Linked DNA regions of Homo sapiens: regions 1 and 3 are each linked to region 2. The links are contacts of gene promoters, found by promoter capture Hi-C in blood cells and fetal thymus (Javierre and others, 2016). All regions are on one chromosome and are shown on one strand. Each heading gives the region's core, a stretch centred on a gene start or on the middle of the fragment in contact. The rest is flanking DNA. Distances are from core to core; before and after follow the strand shown.

What was found. The method cuts DNA at HindIII sites, captures the fragments that hold promoters and counts their contacts. A CHiCAGO score of 5 or more calls a contact.
Region 1: a fragment that was not itself captured here is called in contact with the fragment with the promoter of SH2D4B in region 2 in 1 of 17 cell types (non-activated CD4 T cells); the score reaches 5.2 in non-activated CD4 T cells.
Region 3: a fragment that was not itself captured here is called in contact with the fragment with the promoter of SH2D4B in region 2 in 1 of 17 cell types (activated CD4 T cells); the score reaches 5.1 in activated CD4 T cells.

What each region holds. Positions count from the first base shown.
Region 1 is chr10:80,210,670-80,214,422 of GRCh38, forward strand. The region is part of intron 1 of LINC00857 (long intergenic non-protein coding RNA 857); the gene reads left to right. Among named protein-coding and RNA genes, the nearest start is that of LINC00857, 4.8 kb to the left of the region's middle. The HindIII fragment of the contact is 7,999 bases long and covers 1-3,753 here.
Region 2 is chr10:80,536,372-80,540,275 of GRCh38, forward strand. It overlaps SH2D4B (SH2 domain containing 4B), which reads left to right and starts at 1,531. Exons shown (of 8, transcript NM_001388272.1): 1 at 1,531-2,144. The coding sequence starts at 1,961. RefSeq lists an enhancer at 3,235-3,374. The HindIII fragment of the contact is 17,935 bases long and covers 1-3,904 here.
Region 3 is chr10:80,191,458-80,194,837 of GRCh38, forward strand. All of the region lies in intron 1 of ANXA11 (annexin A11), which reads right to left. Among named protein-coding and RNA genes, the nearest start is that of ANXA11, 12 kb to the right of the region's middle. RefSeq lists an enhancer at 2,903-3,380. The HindIII fragment of the contact is 1,305 bases long and covers 1,408-2,712 here.

The sequences.
Region 1 (3,753 bases), core at 380-2,879, 330 kb before region 2:
TTGTTGTTGTGCAAATGTCATCAGGTGTACTTACACAGAACTAGATGGTAGAGCCTACTATATGCCTAGGCTGCCTGGTATAGCCTATCGCTTCTAGGCTACAAGCCATTGCAGCGTGTTACAGTACAGAATATGCTAGGCAATTGTAACACAATGGCAAGTACTTGTCTATCTAAACATGCCTAACCACAGAAAAGGTACGGGAAAAATATGGTATGATAATCTGAAGGGACCATCATGGTCCAGCTCATCTGGCTTCTGTCCTGGGGAGGCAGGTGGAGGCAGAACCCCCGCTGCTAGCCAGGGAAGAGCTGCTAGTCCTTCCTGCCCCTGCCGCCTGCCTGTCATGTGCCCCTGCCTGACCATCATGGTCCCACATGGTCTGTCATTGACTGAAATGTCCTCGTGCAGCACTTGACTGTAGTTAAGATGGCTGGCTCTTTCCACTCTGATTTCCCCTCCATCTCATTGCTCCTCGTGCCCCTCATGTTGGAATGGTCATAGGCATTTTTAGGATCTGGCTTGGGATGAGACAGCTTTATGTAGTTTACAGTCACTTCTGTGTGTGGTTGCATTACCGCTAGTCTTCCAGCGTAGGAAGGGCTTCCAGGAATATTGTTCTGATTCAGCCAGCAGGGTCGGAGATGATATCTAAATAATAAACATTTCCCCAGCACCTGTTTTCAGAAATATGTCAGCAGTGGAGGAGAAACAAGTATGGAGCCAGAAACTAGTCTATGGAAAACTCTCTCCCCCATCATATGTATAGAGTTTTAAGCATGTACGGCTGTTCACATCCATGCCTATTTAAAATGGAAGTTCTCTCCTGTAGAGAACATACTCAATAGTGCAATATATACACTTATAACACACACATATAAATATGTCTTTTTTGAGCAATTTCAGTAAATGTATTTTGTTAGAGCTCCTGTGTAGTAAGGCAGAACTAGAGGAGTATTGCAAATAGAAGTATGCTTTTGTGTGAAATGAGATGTCTTATGCATCTCACTGTATCTGATTGCATCTTAGCTTGTCTGATATATTTTATTCCAATGAAGTCCACAAGTTCTAGATGTCTCGCCTCTCTTGAAACATCGCATTGCTTGTGTCCCCTCGCCCTACCCTGTGGTCTCCTGTCTGCACACCTTCGCTCGGGCCGTCTCCCCAGCCTACAATGGCATTTTCTCCTCTTTTCACTTTGGCTGCTCCTACTCATTCTCCAAGATTCTGCTTACTTCTTATCTTTTCTATACATTCTCTGACTTCCCTTTTCGCGATAGTGGACTGAGCACATGCTGCCATTTCTCCACCCAGGCCCATCCTCCAGGAATGACAGGGAAGGAAAAAAATTAGTGTTCTCAAAAAGATAACAGGAAATGTTCAGAGAATCAGAAGCACTGACACGTTTCTGAGAAGCCAAAAGCAGACAGGATCTGATTTGATACTGCAGCCCAGCTCATGAGCAGCAGCCAAGGACATACTATAGGTATACTACAGTATATACTTCAATAATGGGACCAGCAACAAGGCATTCCACACCCAGAGGTGGTGAATGCCTGGAACAAGACTCGGGACCAAAGGGCTACTGACAGAGGGTTAAACAAGTATGCCCGTGGAAGGAGCTAGATGAATTGACCCTGAATATCTCCCTCAACCCCACCCCGGCAGACAAGATGACCAGGACAGCAGTGTCTGTCTCCTGGTATGAACTGTGTTAGGAATGAAAGACAGGACAGGGCCCCATATGGCTGGCAAAGCCAAGGAAGAGTTAAGTAGCAGCCACATCCCAAAGACCAGCTGTGAGAGCACAGCTGGTCCACCTGATAGTGCCTCTGCCTGTTCTGCACTCTCCTTGAAAGCAACATGGAGCACAAGCTCATCCAGCGATTTCCAGCCCTCCCTCACAGCAAGCTAGGCCAGCAGATTTCTTGCAGAAAATTTCATGGGTAAAGATGAGTTCCCTGTCAAAAAATATCATTTGAGAAGCACCACCATGAAAGGGAGACGTCCACCTGAGGAAACATAATAATCATAGCTAATATTTACTGAGCATTTATGTGTCAGGCACTATTGCAAACATAAAGTGGGACTATTTTATGTTTGCAATAGACACATGAATACCTTACAAGAGTCCTGCCTTATAAGAGTTTAAGGTAGGACTATTTTTATTGCCATTTTACAAACGAAGAAACTAAAGTGTCAAGTGATTAAGTAACTTCGTCCAAAGTCACATAGCTTAACATGAGAAGCCACAGATTAACCTCAGCTGTCTGGCTCCAGATCTGGAGATTAAACAGAACAAATAGACAACCAGTAATGTGCTTTGAAGTAAGTATAATGAATATTCTCAAATAAGAAAGGATAGGAAAGAATCAATTAGGGATGTCAGAGATGAACAATGTGTTCATTTTGTATTACTGATCATGGGAATAAAAAACAAAAAATATATTCATAGTTTAAACAAATAAAACCACCTGAGTGGATGAGCTATGGAGTGGAATGTATGCAGCTAAAGAGCTGATTAGTGAACTGAAAGATTGGAATCCTCCCTGAAAACAGCAGACTTGGATAAATAAATAGAAAGTAGAAAAGAAAAGATAATAGACATGGAAGATAGTTCCAGAAGTGCCAACATCCACCCACTGGGTGTTACCAAAAGAGAGACTGCTAGAGAAATGGATGTCCAATGAAACATGGTTGATTTGCAACACAAATTTATTTCCTCTCCCTCCCCAAATCCTAATAAAATGGCAGTAGAGGAAGAGCACAGGTAAAATCCTTCAAGGACAGTAGGGACAAGAGAGGAGAAAACAGCAACCAAGAATTTGGACACGTATTTTGGAGATAGTATACAAAGGAGTGGTAATTTGGCAGAATGGTGCATGTTCTCACTTGGATGCCCCAGAGGGAGAAAATAAGAAGAAGCCAATAGATTCTCGCTACTTCACCCCCAGAGTCTAAGAAAGGATCCACACTTAAAGAGGTGAGGTACAGTGTGAGGCTGTAAACAGGAAAACAGAGGCATAAGTGGAAACCCTAGGCCACTTTCTCTACCCTCTTCAGCCAGGGGTCCCCTCCACCCAGGGGAGAAAGGAGAGTTATTTGTCATATAAATTGAACTGAAGAAACTGTAGAATGGGAGGTCTGAGCCACACAGGTTTGGGAGGAGGAGGTAAGGACAAGTTTAAACACAAGGATTAAGCCACAATCTACATATTGAATGATGGGACCCCAGTCCACAGAGAGTGAGTAACCTAATTTACAATCTATAGGCCAGAGTCCGGAGGATTCATTTGTGGAGAAAAGGAATGTCCCACACAAAGGGCCTCCAAGTGGCTGATGTGTGCTGGTTTCCTCAATGAGGAGCTGACCTGATGCTCAGACACTCTGTGGTGAGCTCCGTCAGTCAAAAAGCCCCGCTCCCCCACAGAGACTGCAGTCAGTGTTTTGTGCCTCACCCCCAAATGTGAATACACAGCTAGGGGTCACCACCTGGGAGGAAGGCCTCCAGCAAGGGTGACCAACCTTCCTGGCTTGCCAGGGACCGAGGGGTTTCACAGGACATGGGACAGTCAGTACTACTATGGTTTGAGTTTGTCCCCACCAAAACTCATGTTGAACTTTGATCCCCAATGTGGCATTGTTGGGAGATGTGCCTGGTGGGAGGTGTTTGGGTCACAGAGACAGATCCCTCATAAATGACTTGGTGCACTCCAGCTCTCTCATGAGAGTGGATTTAGTTCTCGTGGGAAT
Region 2 (3,904 bases), core at 281-2,780:
TGCTGCTCCCTACAGCGTTGTCCCTGCCCCGTGCCCTCTTGTGGTCGTAGGTATCTGGCGGCCCGGGAAAGACAAAAAGAAGCTGCCCGCAGGAGCCCAGACCCTGGGGGCCTTCCTCCCCTTGTCTCCTCTTTGGACTCGGGGGTCTCCCACCAGCCACGGCGAGGGGGAGAAAGAGAATAGCTGGGCAGAGGCTAGGGAAGACCCCCGGTCTCAGAAACTGAGGGGAGCCAGGACTCCCGGTGGGGGAGTCGGTGCAAGCCCTGAGGTGGGTGGATGGGAGTCCAGGGCCACAGCTCTGCAGCGGACAGGCGAGTCCTGTGGCGGCTCTAGGAAGGTCTGGGCACACTGGGACCAGCTAGCTGGACCTGGGTGGGGAGGGGTGGGGCGTCTGACTCCACTCCTGTGACCTGGACATTGCCTAGCTGAGCAGGAGCTTTGACCCTATGGGCTTACAGCTCATCTGAATCTGCTTAGTCCATCTTCCTGTTGTGTTAACCTTGCAGAGGGGGAAGAATGCCAACTCTCCACCCCTCTTCCATCACTCTTGGGTACCTGATCCACCTTCCACCCTCATGGGCAAGGAAGGGGACAGGAAGGTCACCAATCCAACCAAGCCACAGTGCCAAATCCTGTTGGTTCGTTTGTTTTCCCTTGGTTGGGTTATGTTTTCAAACCATCAACAGATTCATAGTTGCTAGTGGATGTCAAATTTCAAAACGGGGGAGTCCCAATACAGTGACTTGTCCATTAGGAAGCCATAGGCAAGCCACTTACTTTCTCTGAGCTTCAATATCCTTGTCCCAATAAGAAGGCATCTGTGATTTGCTCTGAGCACATATTTAGGGTGAGCTTTCACCCTAAAGATCTCAGCAACGGCAGCTTCTACCCACCTTCACACACCAAAGAGAGGGTGGCTTCCCTCCCAGCAGAAGGCAACATCCCGCCATTCCAGTGTGCTTCTGATCAGGGCACAGAGAAGAGCCAGTTTCATCTTCTTTCTTTTTGGTCAACTCCAGGCATCTGCAACAAACAAGATTAACAACGACCATTAAAACTGGCCCCTGGAGGGTTTATCTGTCAGCCACGCATGGCTGCAGGATCTCATTATATATAGGCCAAAGGGAAAGGATGTCTGCTTCCTTTCTGTCCTGGAATTCCAAGATAAAATCCCCTCCAGTTGTCTCTACTGATTCCATTTTGTTTTCTTTCTTGGCTGTAACACAGATAGGAGGAAAAATCTTTCCTCCCCCAAGGCAGAGTTTTAAACGCATCATCTCAGAATGCCAAATGTTCTGGAAAGGAAGAAAGTTGGCAGCGAAGGAACCCGCAGAGAGAGGGGCTGAGAGGGCTGAGGGGCCCAGCAGCTTCTGGCAGGCTCCTCTGGTCTGTGTTTGAAATTGGCTGAAAAGACATGGAATTTAGTAGGCAAGTCTGCCTCCTTCTCCTCCTCTTATCTGCAGAGGAGAGATCAGTTCCCAGCTGGCCGGGGCAGTGTCATTGATATAGCTGGTGTCATTGTTACCTTCCACTAACAGATCACTCGACACCTACCAGCCCAGGCAGGGCTGGGACTGGGCATTTCCTGGCTGAGCTGGAGGCTTGGGCCCTTCCCATTGTCTCAGAACCCCAGGTGATGCCAAGACATGGGCTCTCCTGGGATGCCGTGCTTGGTGACCCAGGAGAAGGACTAGATTGCTCCTGGTGGTTGCTCCCCCTTGCAGAGTCCCACCTGCCCCTTTGGGTCCTGTTGCCTGGCCTCTTTTGCTGTCCTGGGTAGAGGAGATGAGTTCGTCGCTGGCTGCAAGCTGAGGCCAACTGACAATGCTGCACAGAGAAGGGGCACCGAGAGTGGCCCCGGATTGAGCAGTCCGTAGTGCAGAGCAGCCCCTCGGGCGTTCTGCCTGGCCCTGCTTCCCCTGCTGGCTGCCCTTCTGGTGCGTGCATCCCAGGTGGCATCATGCTGCAGCAGATCCTGCACGACATGTACATCGACCCCGAGCTCCTTGCCGAGCTCAGCGATGTGCAGAAGCACATCCTCTTCTACAAAATGCGGGAGGAGCAGCTGAGGCGCTGGAAGGAGCGGGAGACTTGGGAGGCCCTGGCCCAGGACGAGGGTCTCAGGCCTCCAAAGACCAAGCGAGGTACGTGGCTGGGAGTCACAGAGAGGTAGGCCACCAGTCCCCCAGGAGGTAGAAAAATTAGCAGGGCCAGGCTGTGCCCTTCTTCAAGATGGGCACTGGGGTGATGAGGGCTGGGGGCTTGAAACCCTTGTCTTGTGGGCATCAGGTCCCATGAGCCTGTGCTTTTGCCTTTTGGCCAGGACCTTAGGGCTTCGAGGCTGCTGCAGAGGCTGTCCAGCGGCCCTTATTGGAGTCGGGGAGTTGGGACTTGCTTTGTCTTGTTGTGGAAGGCCCGAGTTCTGGGAAGACACCATTGAGACTTCAGATTGTGCTCCGACGTGGTTGGCAATGGTAGGGTGAACGACGGCATATTTGTGACCCTTGCCATTGGTTCTGGGCCAGAGTGTGGTGTAGATATGCAGTTCCTTTCTCCTTGGCATGCGTGGCACACCAGTTCTTGGCTAGGGCCCCTTCTGTGGACTGTGCCTCTCCCTCCAGATCCTCCGGCAGGAGGATGCTGTGGGTTGTCTCTGGAGCCCCACTGGGCATCCGGAGAGAGGGCATCAGGGAACGTCCCACACAATGAATGACCATCCCCAAATGGTCGTAGCAACTGCAGATGAGAAGCAAGGGCCTAGCCTACATTTCAGGTGTTTTGTATGCAAAGTCATGTGCCAGTCAATCCTATGGACTGGTACACCTGTGGGTGAAGGAAATCATCCAGGACCCCTGGGCCAGAAACTGGCAGGCTGCTGAGGCTTGGCTTGGCACAGGACTCAATCCTGCCAGGGATTGTAGTTTCTGTGGATGCTGCATGCACTTTACAGTTTGCAAGGCTTATGTGCCTTCACCCTTTGAAGTTTTCAATCCAGAACAAAGTCCTGTTTCAGGGCTGAGCACACAGCTCCCTTGGTGATCTGGCTCTTCTCCATGCCAGGCTCACTGCTGGCCAGTCCCCACCAGGTGCCACAGGCCACACCCACATCATCTGGACATGCTTGCTCTTGTCTCTGGTCTTCACATGAGTGGCTCTCACCGTTGGGAATGTCCTTCTGCCTTCATCCACCTGACAGACTCCATCAGGAGTGGCCCCCCTGCCCTGGAGTGTTCAGGGATGCTCTTGCATAGGGCAGTACTTGCTCCTCTGTGGCTGCCTGGCATGTAGGACCCACGCCTGCCCTGGCATTTGCCACCCTGTCATTGTCATTCCTCATCTGCTTGCCTGGCTCTCCGATGGGCTCAAAGGCACTGGTGTGTGAGGGCTTCCTCCACTCTATCTTCCTCCCCTGGGCCCAGCACAGAGGTGGCACATGGTGTTAAATCCTTGTTTTGAACAAGACACAGCAGGACCCTGCCGGGGAGGTTGGGGCAGAGCTGTGACTTGGCTGCAGGTGGCTGCTGCCAAAGCTGGGGCCTTCCGGGCTGGGCTGCGCTGGCAGCTGCATCACTAACTGGTGAAATGACAAGCCACCTTGCCAGCACCACCCGGCCTGAGCCCTGGGGACTCATGATGCCTGCATGATGACTCTTCTTGGAGGGAGACAGATGCCTAAAAATTTAACTGCAAAAATATTTATACAGAGATTTGTCACACATAGACATCTACATTTTCATGTATAAATTATACATTAAACTCATTTGAGTTTCTGGTGCAGAAGATCCTTTTTCTGGTAATTAATTTTCTGATTTATAAAGAATGGAAAAGCAGGAAAGCACGCCGAGGAATGTGTGTATCCCAGGTCAGGATCCCGCTTGGATCCTGGCTCTTTGCTTCGGTCCTG
Region 3 (3,380 bases), core at 810-3,309, 340 kb before region 2:
CTTTCCTTCCAGATCCTTCTATGGCATTCTCTTTCCAAAGGCCTCTGTTCTCTTTGCATAAGAGCTCTGTGAACATGTCTACCTAACTCAGCCAGCTTTCTTCAACAAGGGAAATATTAAACCACCAAGACTACAAAAAAAACCCTTTCCAACGGCACAAGGAGGAACCAGGTGCTCGCCTCTCCCATGTGTCGGGAACAGGCTCGGCACAGGTGTGCTAACTTGAATTACCAATCAACATGAGTCACCAGGGGACTTGGGCCCTCAGTGGCTTCCGTGTGGCCAGGCTACGCATGCCCAGTCAGCATTTGCCCAGTCGGATTTGCACAGGCAGGGCCATCACACCCCATCAGCCAGGACCTCACAACCGGATGCCAGAGGCCAGCTCAGCACCTCAGAGACGACTCAGTTCACTCCCACCGACCCCACCTCACCCCATTTCACAAATGGTCACACTGACAACCAGAGAGAGGGTTGTGGCATGCCAAGGTGATACAGCAAGACCCTAAGAGGGCTGGTGCTGAATCCCCCACTCCCAGGCTAGAGCTCATCGTCCCCAGGGCAGGGTGGGTAGAGAGGCTTCCTGTCCTCAGAGCTGCTGGCGGACTCAGGCCCAGTTCTCTAGGATGATTCTTTTTGTTCCATCACGGGGGCAGCCCATGGGAGTTCAAGCCTGGGTTGCTGCTTCCTGCCCGAGGCAACAGCAGGTACAGTGGGAAGACCAGCGCTGAGGAGAGATTAATTTTGCAATATTGGGGAATAACTGCCTTCCAGGAAACACACCGAAGGGGGAAGAGATGTGATAAAATCCTGCCCCTCCTGTACATTTCACCTATGCACTCTAATCAGATTTTTATGGTCTCCCTCTTCATATAGACAGCAAAGGGTCACAGGACATCTGAGAAAGTCTACACCAAGAAAGGGAGAGACCAAAACAGAAGAAAAGGAACCAAAGAAACAGACAACGATGAGAAGTAGAGGACAAAAATATAATCAATAATATCCTCAGAGATAGAAGAGAACCAAAGAAACAGACAATGATGAGAAATAGAGGACAAAAATATAATCAATAATATCCTTAGAGACGGAAGAGAAAATGTTATATCCACAAAGCAAAAAGATCAGCAAAGCAATCATTGTGAAATTTGAGAAGAGAAGAGGCAGAAGATACTAAAACTTTAGAAAAGAAAGAACAAGGGTCCTTTTCAGGGGAACTGGAAGGACACTGGACTTCAACAGCCACACTAGAAACTAGAAGATAACAGAATAATGTGTTCAGTGTTCAGAAAGGAAATTATTTTCAGCTTATAATTCTATAGCCAGCTAAATTATCCACTACTGGATAGAGATATTTGGAATGGATATTTCTATCCATTAGGGAGGAATAGAGATATTTGCAGGCACACAAGCTTCAAAAACAAAAAACAAAACAAAATCTACCTCCCATGCACTTTTCTTAGGAACTTCTGGATGATTTCAGCAAAATGAGACATAAATAAGGAAAATAAAGAAAATAAAATATATAGGATCTAGGAATAGGAGAATCTAACACAGAAGACTGTAAAAAGAAGTCCCGGGACAACAGCTGAGCAGCAGGCCTGCGGAGCAACCAGACCAGTTTGGAACAATAGATACACAGAAAATCAGGCCCCCAAGGAGGGAAAGCATCCACCTGAGGAATATTGGGACAGGAAGGATTGTACTCCTAATGTGTGACCACGGCACATTACTTGCACAGCATCGAACAATACAATTTATGGTCACAATAATGCATACATTAAATATTGATGTATGTATTGGTTCCTAATCTACCAAGCAGGAAGTCAACATATTTCAAAACTGATAAATTAAGAAACAGTCATATAAGCCTATTAATTAAAAATAGTTAAAAATGATTAACTCTGGAGAAAGGGAAAGAGGAAGGATGTGTCAGGGGACTGCTGGCTTCATTATAAGCCTTTTGGATCAACATATTTGGCTTTTTTCGTGTATTATTATAAAATATTTTTACAATATAGCAATAAATACAACATATATATGAATTATAAAGCACAATAAAATAAGCATCCTTTATCATCTAACTTTAGAAAGAGAACATTACTTCTGCCAGGCGCAATGGCTCACATCTGTAATCCCAGCACTTTGGGAGGCTGAGGCAGGCAGATCACTTGAGGCCAGGAGTTCGAGACCAGCCTGGCAAACATGTCAAAACCCCGTCTCTACTAAAAATACAGAAAGTAGTCTGGCGTGGTGGCGCATGCCTATACTCCCACCTACTCGGGAGGCTGGGGCTGCAGTGAGCCAAGATCGTGCCACTGCACTCCAGCTTGGGCAACAGAGGGAGACTCTGTCTCAAAAAAAAAAAAAAAAAGACAGAATATTACTACATTCTTCTTCTTTTTTATTTTTTTGAAGAAGTCTCTTGCTCTGTCACCCAGGCTGGAATGCAGTGGTGCAATCTCGACTCACTGCAGCCTCAGCCTCCCAAGTAGCTGGGATTATAGGCATGCGCCACCACGCCCAGCTAATTTCTGTATTTTTAGTAGAGACAGGGTTTCGCCATGTTGACCAGCCTGGTGAACTATATTCTTCAACTGCTTTCTGAAAAAACAGGCATATATTTTTTAGGGGAAAGTTAAAATAAAACACTAGCAGCCAGTCTGTGAGACTGGTACCAACATCTGCAGTAGGTCCAGGTTTTGTGGGGCCTGAAGCTTATACAATTTTAGGAACCCTCTTCAGGACAAAGAATACAAAAAATCTTAGTTTTTTGCAAATGTTATAAACCATATGACTCTGTGAACTCACTGCTAGTGCCCCTCCCACGGCCCCTCACTAGGGTGCTACAAGTCCGGGGACCTGAAGCTTCCACTTCATTAGCTTCACAGCAATCCCACCTGGGTTTATGGAGGCACCAGGGGCTGGGCTACACCCCCTAGGATAGGGAAGAAAAAAATAAAGTCCTGGCCTGCATCATGCTTTCCCTCTAGCTAGCGAGATAAACACAATAGCGCACTTCCAGGGAAACACACACTACAATATTTAAGAGCCACTCCTAGGAAGAGTCGGGGGGGGAAGACAAAGAATTCAGAAAATGTGTTCCCTGGCAGTGGAGCATAGGGGCGTCTGAGAAACTGGCTTCTCTCTGAGGGGCCTTGGCAAATCTAAGCCCTCCCAGCCTCGTCTACCTCACCTATTTTCAATGAGTGCGCCTGCAGGGCCTCAGTGGTTTGCATGCTGCCTCCCAGAACCTGGGGCTCCTGAAGGTTTTGGAGCTCAATAGCATTATTTCATTGGAGGGAGGAAAGGGCTGCAAAAGGGAGACTCTGGCTTAAATCCTTCAAAAATATTAAAACAGGAGCTCTGGCAACAAGGGCCCC